Linked DNA regions of Homo sapiens: region 2 is linked to region 1. Evidence: promoter capture Hi-C in 16 types of primary human blood cells and fetal thymus (Javierre and others, 2016). All regions are on one chromosome and are shown on one strand. Each heading gives the region's core, a stretch centred on a gene start or on the middle of the fragment in contact. The rest is flanking DNA. Distances are from core to core; before and after follow the strand shown.

Evidence for each region. Contacts are between HindIII fragments. The CHiCAGO score rates a contact against its expected background, and 5 or more counts as called.
Region 2: a contact is called between a fragment that was not itself captured here and the fragment with the promoter of EYA2 in region 1, in 1 of 17 cell types (M2 macrophages). The highest score is 5.0, in M2 macrophages.

The regions. Positions count from the first base shown.
Region 1 is chr20:46,891,211-46,896,233 of GRCh38, reverse strand. It overlaps EYA2 (EYA transcriptional coactivator and phosphatase 2), which reads right to left and starts at 1,391. Exons shown (of 16, transcript NM_005244.5): 1 at 1,247-1,391. The HindIII fragment of the contact is 20,535 bases long and covers 1-5,023 here.
Region 2 is chr20:47,156,085-47,160,904 of GRCh38, reverse strand. All of the region lies in intron 10 of EYA2 (EYA transcriptional coactivator and phosphatase 2), which reads right to left. It also overlaps the pseudogene RPS2P54. Among named protein-coding and RNA genes, the nearest start is that of MIR3616, 8.5 kb to the left of the region's middle. The HindIII fragment of the contact is 3,283 bases long and covers 103-3,385 here.

The DNA of each region.
Region 1 (5,023 bases), core at 142-2,641:
TCCTTTGTAAGGGATCTCCCTAACTCAAACATAATTCAGTGCTCAAATTCTTACATGATGTTTGTAAATCATCCTCCTGCCCCTCCGCCCTCGCTAACAGCTAGATTCCAATGTTCAGCTCTTCCACTGCACCTCGTAATTAAAAGGTACCTCTTACCGGGGTGATTTATACCTCCACGTTATATTTTAAAAAGTAATTGAAGATTACATAGCATTTCGGGGAAGGGGAAAGAAAAGAAAAGGGTATCCATAAAAACGCAGCATCGGTCTTGCTTTTTAAAAAGAATTCAGACCGCGGCAGGGTGCACGCTGTCAACTCTCAGCCTCGGCTTCGGGGAAGCAGGAACCTCGCACTGCAAAAGGCGCTTCCAGTTCAACAGCTGAGAAAAGCGCACTGAGTCTTTTGCGATAGGAGTACGTTCACCAGTCACGCTTTCCTAGTATTCCTTGAGCTTATAAACTATTTATTGCTGGGGGGGAGGCAGGCAGGAATATATTGAAGGAGCCTGGGCCAGCACGGCCGTTTAACCTCCAGACTTCATGACTAAAAAACAATTCCATTTCCCACTTTCTCCCATTACAACGAAATCCTTGCCGCCTTCTAAACACCCTTCGGATGTAAACTTTTCTAAGTTTCAACTCTACCCGCAGCAGGCGCCAGGATTCCCTGCCCCGGTTCAAAGCCCCAGACCTGAACCAGAGCGGGCCGAGCGCAAACGGACTTTTGAAAAGAAATATATCAATAGCTAGAAGGCAAAGTCTCAGCGGGCCGTTCCAGCCCCAAGCCGGGATTCCAGCGGTTGGCTCTGCTTCTTGGTTATCCCATAAACACTACCTGAGGGCTTGAGTTTGCGGACTGGGGGAGCGCCCCTTATCGCGAACCGCCGGGACCATAATCGAACAAAACGCCAAGGACCCAGCCGCGTCTACACCGCCTGCGCGCCATGCACTTGTCCCGCGCGCGGGAGAGCAAACTTCAGGGTCGTTGCCCCAAAGCGCATGGGGAAACTGGGGCCCCGAGCCTGGGAGAGCCTTTCCAGAGGGGGGCTCTGCTGCTGTCCCCTCTGCCCTTGTGCCTTCCTGGCCCTGGGAGGCCCGTGCGCCCCAGAACGTCCCGACAGCTGCGGAGGCCCCGCTTGGCGAGTGCCAGAAAGAGGCGCAGGGCGAGGGGGTCCCGGTGAACAACTCCCCCCGCCCGGCGAATCCCGGCGGGCGGCCTGGGGTGGGCGCCGCTGGCGGTACTCACCGCGCGCAGTGGAGAGGGCGCCCCGACGCGGTGCGGGCGGGCGGGCGGGCCGGTGCGGGTCCGACGAGGCCGGGCTGACTGCGGCGGGCACGTTGCTGTCTCTGCCGTTGCCGCTGCCTCCGCCTCCTGGGCTGCCGCGGCTGCTGCCTGCGCCGGGAGGACCGGCCCCTTCTCCTCCCTGGGCCGGGCCCTCCCTCTGCCCCCGCCCGGGTCCCCGCGCCGCTGCGTGGGCGCGTGGGGGCGCCGAGGCGCGACGCTGGGCTACGCGGGCGCACACACCCGGCGGCTGGACGCAGGGCGCGGGGCTCTGGCCCAGCACGTGCCGCCGCGCCGCTTCCTGAGCCTGCAGCCGAGCAGAGCGCGCTCACTCTCGCCGGTCCTGGAGGCCAGGGCCCAGCCTCCTCCCCACCCACCGACACCCCGCACCTCCTCCCTCCCCGGGGCAGCACATCCTCCCTGCAACCCAGGCATGACCCCTGTGAAAGGAACGACGGCTCGGAGAGGACCTCAATAGTGACACTAACATTCGTTCACTCAACCACCCATTCATTCATTCAAAATATATTGAGCATCTACTGTGCCAGGTACCACTCCTGAGAGACTCAGCTAGAACAAGACAGACTAGTTTTCTGCCCTCCCGGAACTTGCATTCACATGGAGAGGCAAACCATAAACAAATAACCAAGTAAAGAAGCAAGACAGTTTCAGAAAGTTAGAGTTACAGGGAGAAAAATAATATATGTATCTGCTGTTGGGGAGTGGAGGAGAGGCGGTAATTTTAGCTAGAGCAGTCAGGGAAGACCTCTCTGAGGAGGTGACATCTGAATTATGAGGAAGTGCCATTGGTGTGGTATTTAGGTGAGAACGGTTCAGGGGTCTCCCCTATGTTTCACCCATTTTACAGCTAAGGAAACTGAGGTCTCAAGAGCTTAACTGGTTTAGTGAAAGTGAGAGGTATAGCCCCCTCCACCTACATGCCCAAATCAAGGCACCCCACTTACTCCATCCTCTCATAGCCACCCCCCTTTTAGTCTCCCTGGCAATGAACTGTGTTAATTGGAGTCTATGCAGCCTTTCCTAGCCCGTCACCCACTCTCTAATGTCTATGAATTCCACCGTGGGACACCCAGGATGCTTCAATCCAAAAGCAATATCAACCACTGTCATTTCTTAAGTGCAGTAAAAGACAGGGCACCCAGGTGAATTTGAATTTCAGAGAAACGAGGAATCAGTTGCAGTATATGTCTTATGCGATTGGTTGTACGTACTTATATTTAAAAAGTATTTCTTTTGTCTCCGAAATTCCAATGTAACCGGGGGTCCTATATTTTTATTTGCAACCTTAAGCTCATCCAATGCCCAACTCTTCCTTATCTCATGTAATCCCCAAGAGAGACCCCAAGGTAGCTGCTGTCAGCACACTCATTTCACAAATGAGCAGGTCCAAGCTCAAAGAAGGCAGAAAGTGGCTGAGCCAGGAATGAAATTCAGGCCTGGCTGACTCCAAAGCCGTTGCTCTTGAGCCGTAACAGTCTTCAATTCCAGTTGTAAGTTTACAGGAGCTGATGAAGGTTAAGTTCTTGGGCCCCTGACTTGCTTGGACCCCTTTCTAAGGGGACTTAGAAAAGTGTTCAGATGGTGGCTTGTTGATGTAAAGTTTACAAAAGTCCTTTGCTTTGGACATTTGGCTGCAGGCCGTAGACACCGCTGTCTTTCCACTCCGATTCCCCACCCCCAACTTGCCCTTGAGTAGGGTGGTGTCAGGTGGCTGCTGGCATTTTGGAGGAAAGTTGAGTTGGGAATTTTGTGATGTTTGTGGTAATTTTCAGCTTCTTAAAATTTGAATTTGTTGTGATTTCTTTTCTTAATTTAAAGAAATAATCATTTTCTTATCTAATCTTGGACTCATAATTTTGTACTCTTTTTCTTGAATAGGGGCTGCAAATTATACATGTATCAGGCCTCACCATTCCCAGACCCACCTCTGGTCATAGCTTACTCCGCTTTCTACTCCCCAAACTTCAGACAGAAGCAAATGTATTCAGTAAACATGGTTGTTCTCTTCTCTGGGCCTGCCGCAGTAGGCTTGGAGATGGCTCTGCTTCTGTCTTCTAGAGGCAGAATGTACATATGTACTTGGCCTTGATTTTCTCATCACTAAAGTGAAAATAACAGTACTCATCTTATACTATTATTGTGAAAATTCATGGAGCTCATGCTCATAAAACACTTTCTACTATGACTGCAGCTGGCACTAGCAATTGCTCAACAAATATTATTACTGTACACACAGCTTCACTTCCCATAGTATCTTTGCTAAGTGCTCCAAGTCATTATAAATTGAGCATCTTAATGACCTTCAGAGGTGTTTAATTTGTCTTGGCCTGTGAACCTTAATTTTTTTTTCCTAAAGGAATAGACTGGAATAGGAAATATCAAGTGAATTGTATGCAGTAAGAATATATATACATACCTATACATATATAGTTACATATATACATATGATCCCCTATATATAGTTAAATGTATACATATGGTCCCCAATTTATGATGGTTTCACTTAATGATTTTTTTGACTTTATGACGATGTGAAAGTGATGTGTATTCAGTAGAAACCACAATTGAGATACCCATACAACCATTCTATTTTTCACTTTCAGCAAAATATTTGATAAATTTCATGAGATATTCAAAACTGTATTATAAAATAGGCTTTGTATTAGATGATTTTGCCCAACTGCGAGGTAATGCAAGTGTTCTGAGTGCATTTAAGGTAGGTTAGGCTGAGCTATGATGTTCAGTAGGTTAGGCGTATTAAATGCATTTTGAACTTAGGATATTTTCAATTTACAATGGAGAGATATATATGTATATATGTATACGTATATCATATATACGTATACATACATACATATATATATACACACATGTATCTGTATCTATATCTATATCCATATCTATATCTATATCTTTGGTCAGGATGTGAAATGTTTCTTCCTGTGGCTCATGGGGAAAAATCTTGAACACTTGTTAACCAAAGGTACCCTATAGAATGCAAAGGGTTAATCTATTTCCTTCATACCATTTTATTCCTTCCCCAGAATCTGGCCCATTATTTCATAAATTACAGACACACCCCAACGACCCTGAGAGATAAGCAGGAGGCAGGTGCTTATTAATTTTATTTTTCCTTCTCTTAGCGCTGTGATTCTCAACTCTGGGTGCACAGAATCTCCAGGGAGAGCTTTTAAAAATCTCCATGCTGAGTCCCCATCCTAGACCAATTAAACCAGACTCTGGGGTGGAACTGTGGCATCTGCCTTTTTTTTTTTTTTTTTTTTTTTGAGAAGGAGCCTTACTCTGTCGCCCAGGCTGGAGTGCAATGGTGTGATCTTGGCTCACTGCAACCTTCACCTCCTGGATTCAAGCAATTCTCCTGCCTCAGCCTCCCAAGTAGCTGGGATTACAGGCATGTGCCACCACGCCCAGCTAAGTTTTGTATTTTTAGTGGAGACAAGGTTTCTTCATGTTGGCCAGGCTGCTCTTGAACTCCTGACCTCAGGTGACCCACCCATCTTGGCCTCCCAAAGTGCTAGGATTACAGGCGTGAGCCACTGTGCTTGGCCGGCATCATCCTTTTTTAAAGCTCCCTAGGTGATTCCAATATACAGCAGAGGAAGAGAATCCCTATCTTTGGGAGAGTGAGACCTTGACCACAGAGTCACAGCAGATGAGCAGAAGCTGATAGGACTTAAGCCCCCAATGCTAATTCAAGAC
Region 2 (4,820 bases), core at 495-2,994, 260 kb before region 1:
ACCTTGTCAAGACCCCATCAGAGTCTCTGTGCAGAGGACTCAGGCTCCAGCTGTGGCTACAACATAGGGTTTTTATACAAGAAAAATAAAGTGAATTAAGCTTGAAAAAAAAAAAGAGAGGGGAGGCTTCAAGGATGAAATCTGGCTCTTGCCCTCACAGTGCCTATCATGTCACTGGAAAAGACAAGGCAAAGAGGCATGAAATACCAAATTGCTGATTCAAGATGCGTACACACTGATCACCTTCTATGTTCCCAACACTGGCCTAGGCACTGCATGTGTCTTGGAGTTATCCCCGTCTCCTCTCTCTGACATCCTGCCACCCATCCATCACCAAATCCTGTTGGCTTTCCCTTCGACATATACCCACAATCTGACCATTCTCACCTCCTCCACTGCCCGCACCGCCCCCCGCCCCACCGTGGTCCAAACCACCATCATCTCCCACCTAGATCAGAGGTTAGTAAGCTATAACCCAGGGGCCAAATCTGGCCTGTCGCCTGTTTGTGTAAATAAAGTTTTATTAGAACACATCTATGTTCATGCAATTACATCCTGTCTGCTGCAGCTTTTGTGCTACTGCAGGAGAACTGAGTAGCTGAGACAGGTCCACTATGATGTGCAAAGCCAAAAATATTTACTATCTGGTCCTTTACAGAAGTTTGTTGACCCCTGGTGTAGGCTACTACAGTCACCTCCTCACTCTTCCTGCTCCTATCCTTATCTAGCCCCTATCCTCCCAGCCTAGTCTCCAGCCAGCAGCCAGAGGGATCCTGTTCAACCCTAAGTCAGATCACGTCCCGCTCCTGCTCAAATCCCCACAATGGATATCACCTCCCTCCAAATAAAAGCACAGTCCTCACAGTGGAACCTGGCTCCATGTGGTCTGCCCACCCTCAGGTTCATCACCTCCCTGACCTCATCTCCTACCCTCTCCTCACTACACTGCCCACACAGTGGCTTCCTGCAGCTCACTGCAGCCTCCGCCTCTCAGGTCAGTGATTCTCCTGCCTCAGCCTCCCAAGTAGCTGGGATTACAGGCATGCGCCACCATGCCTGGCTAATTTTTGTATTTTTAGTAGAGACAGGGTTTCACCATGTTGGCCAGACTGGTCTCGAACTCCTGACCACAAGTGATCCGCCCACCTTGGCCTCCCAAAGTGCTGGGATTCCAGGCATGAGCCACCGTGGCTGGCCTGGAATAGTTTTAGATTTACAGAAAAGTTGCAAAGATAGTACAGAGAGTTCCCATACACCCCACACCCACTTTCTCCTTTTGTTAACTTCTTACATTAGTATGCTGCATTTGTCAAAACTAATAAGCAGATAGTGCTGTGTTAACTACTGTCAATTACTTATTCAGATTTTTAAGGCTTTCCCTGTACTGTTCTTGGACTGTTTCAGGATCCAAGGTGGATATCACATGACACGTAGTTGTCCTGTCTCCTTAGGCTTCTCTGGTTTGTGACAGTTTCTCAGGCTTTCCTTGCTTTTGAGGACGGTGTGAAGGAGAACTGGTCAGGTATTTTGTAAAATGTTTGTCAACTGGGATTTTTCCGATGTTTTTCTCATGATGACACCGGGTTCCTGGGTTTTGGGAAGGTCACAGATGGGGAGTGCCATTCTCTTCATATCACATCAAGGGTAAATATTATCAACATGACTAATCACTGTTGATGTTGACCTTGATCACCTGGCTCAGGTGGTCTTCATCAGGGTTCTCCACTCCGAAGTTACTATTCCCCTCATCTATATTGTACTCTTTGGAAAGAAGTCACTATGCGTGGCTCACACTATGGGTGTAGTATCTACATAAGTTACCTGGAATTTTTCTGTGTGGGAGATTTGTTTAGTCTCCCCACTTATTTATTTATGCAATCATTTATCTACATCAGCATAGACTCATACATACTTATTTTATACTTTGGGTTAGAATCTGATATTACATTATTTATTTTATTATTCCAGCTTTTATTTTATTTTGCTCTCCTTTTTATTTATTGTTCCAGATTTGGCCATTGGGATCTGATATTATATTATTTATTTTATTACTCCAGCTTTTGTTTTATTTTGTTGTTCTTTTTATCTTTCTGGATTTGGCCATTGGGAACTCTTTTCAGTTGGATCCTGTGTTCCTCTGGCATAACGTATCACTTTGGGTTTTCCTGAGCAATTCCTTACTTTACGGTGCTAAAAGATGCTCTGGGATAATCATATAGTTCTTGGCCCAGCCCTAGAATCAGCCATTTCTCCATGGAGCTCTGGTTCCTTTTTCTTGCAGCGTGGTATTAGAAACTGTTATCTGAGTATCCTCATTGCTACAAGGGTGTCATCGTTCCTGGGCTCAGGTAACACAGCAAGGTCTTCAGTTTCCTTTTTTTTTTTTTGAGACAGAGTTTCACTCTTGTCACCCAGGCTGGAGTGCAGTGGGGTGATCTCGGCTCACTGCAACCTCCATCTCCTGGGTTCAAGCGATTCTCCTGCCTCAGTCTCCCAAGTAGCCGGCATTACAAATGCCTGCCACCACATCTGGCTAATTTTTTGTATTTTTAGTAGAGATGGGGTTTCATCATGTTGACCAGGCTGGTCTCAAACTCCTGACCTCAGGTAATCCCACCCACCTGGGCCTTCCAAAGTGCTGAAATTACAGGCGTGAGCCACTGCACCCAGACAGTCTTCAGTGTTTTTTAAAAAATTACAAAATATGGTTATTCTATCTGCTTGCAGGTGTGTTACGAGGCAAGGGGCAGGTGTCAAATAAATGATACCAATTATAGTCCAGACCCCTCTTTTCACCAGTGTGGAAACTAAAGCTCAGACAGGATCTGCAGAAAACTTCTGTAAAGAGTCACAGGGCATGGATGAAGGTAGGTGCTGGGATCGCAGGGGCCTTCCAACTTCAGCAGCGACGACCGCAATTTGTCCATTTGTCATATGCGCTGTAACTCCAGTGTCAGCTTTAGGGTGATGTTAGTCTTATAAAATGTGTGGGAGAGCATTCCATCTTTTTCTTTGCTCTGTAGTTTATGCTGGATGAGATTTATCCTTTCCTTGAAGTTTTGTTGGAACTCTTGTTTAAAACCAGTGGGACCTGGTGCCTTTTTTGGTGGGGGCACCAAAAACGCACTTTCTCTTTAATGATTTAACAAATTTTCATGATCTTTGGTTTGTTGTATTTATTTTTATTTCCACTTGGGCTAATTTCAGTAATTTGTGTCTTCCTGAAAAGTGTCAATCTCACCTAGATTTTCAAATTCATTGGTAAAACAGTGTGCCTGGCATTCTTGTAATTAAAAGAAACAACCTCCCCTGGATTTTAGTAATGTCCACCCTTTCATTCTGGATGTTGTTTATTGATCTCTCTCTTTTCCCCTTTGATTAAGCTTGCTAAAGCCTTATCTATTTTAACGGTCTTTCCAATTATTCTTATGAATTTTCCTGTTTTTCTAACAAATGTCATTTAGGACTGTAAATGCCAATCTGGACTGCCCTTCTGCATCCCACAGGTATGATACTTAGTACTCTTTTTTTTTTTTTTTTTTTTTTTTTTTGAGACGGAGTCTTGCTCTGTCACCAAGGCTGGAGTGCAGTTGTGCAATCTCGGCTCACTGCAACCTCCGCCTCCTGGGTTCAAGTGATTGTTCTGCCTCAGCCTCCTGAGTAGCTGGGACTACAGCGTGCACCACTATGCCTGGCTAATTTTTGTATTTTTAGTAGAGATGAGGTTTCACCATCTTGGCCAGTCTGGTCTCGAACTCCTGACCTCAAGTGATCTGCCCTCCTCAGCTTCCCAAAATGCTGGAATTACAGGCATGAGCCACCATCCCCAGCCGATACTTAGTATTACTGTTGTTGCACGTTGCTGATCAGTAAACTCAGTGACAAATACTTATCAAAACCTGTTCTGATTGAGCTGGTGACAGCTGGGGTTTCTCAAACTCTCCTGCTGTGGTTTGATTCCATTACTTTTTGTCTTTGGCTGCTTGGAGACATGAATGCAGAAATTGTTGACAAATTTGCGTTAGAAAAATGATGCTCATCAGGGCCCCGATGAACTTCCTGGCTGCTCCTTCTCCTCTGAGGCAGGTATATTTTTCAAGTGAGATTGCTTAATGCTGCCTCCAGACTAGCCAGAGAGGAGTCTACTCCCTGGGAGGGAAACCTGGGCCACATCTCTTGTGCTAAGTGTTTAACTTATCTTAAGAGCGCTAAAGAGGCTGTGGCCTGAATTGTATTAATGACCATTGGGCAGGATGCTTTGGAGAGAGTTCAGTGTTAACACAGTGACATATTATTTTCCTGATGGCTCCTAAAGCTATCAGGATAAATCACACGTTTAGCAACCAGGCTCATGTGTCAGGCAAGCAGCCATGGCTGCCCTGATTTCAGCAACTTCTGAGTCTCTCCGGCATGGTCTTTCCTAAAGCCCTGGCTGCATCTTGAAATGCTCCCCTTCCAGCCTGCCCGAATGCCTGGCCATTCCTGCGTCAGGCTAGGGATACCTTTTGCCAAAGATCTTTAGCGTTACCTTGTTTCTCCTGAAAGGCTCTTTCCTTATTTTTTTATTTTTTGAGATGGAGTCTTGCTCTGTTGCCCAGGCTGGAGTGCAGTGGTGCTATCTTGGCTCACTGCAACCTCTGTCTCCCGGGCTCAGGCAATTCTCCTGCCTTAGCCTCCCGAGTAGCTGGGACTACAGGCATGCACCACCATGCCCGGCTAATATATATATATATATATATATATATATATATATATATATATATATATATATATATATGTGTGTGTGTGTGTGTGTGTGTGTGTGTGTGTGTGTGTATGTA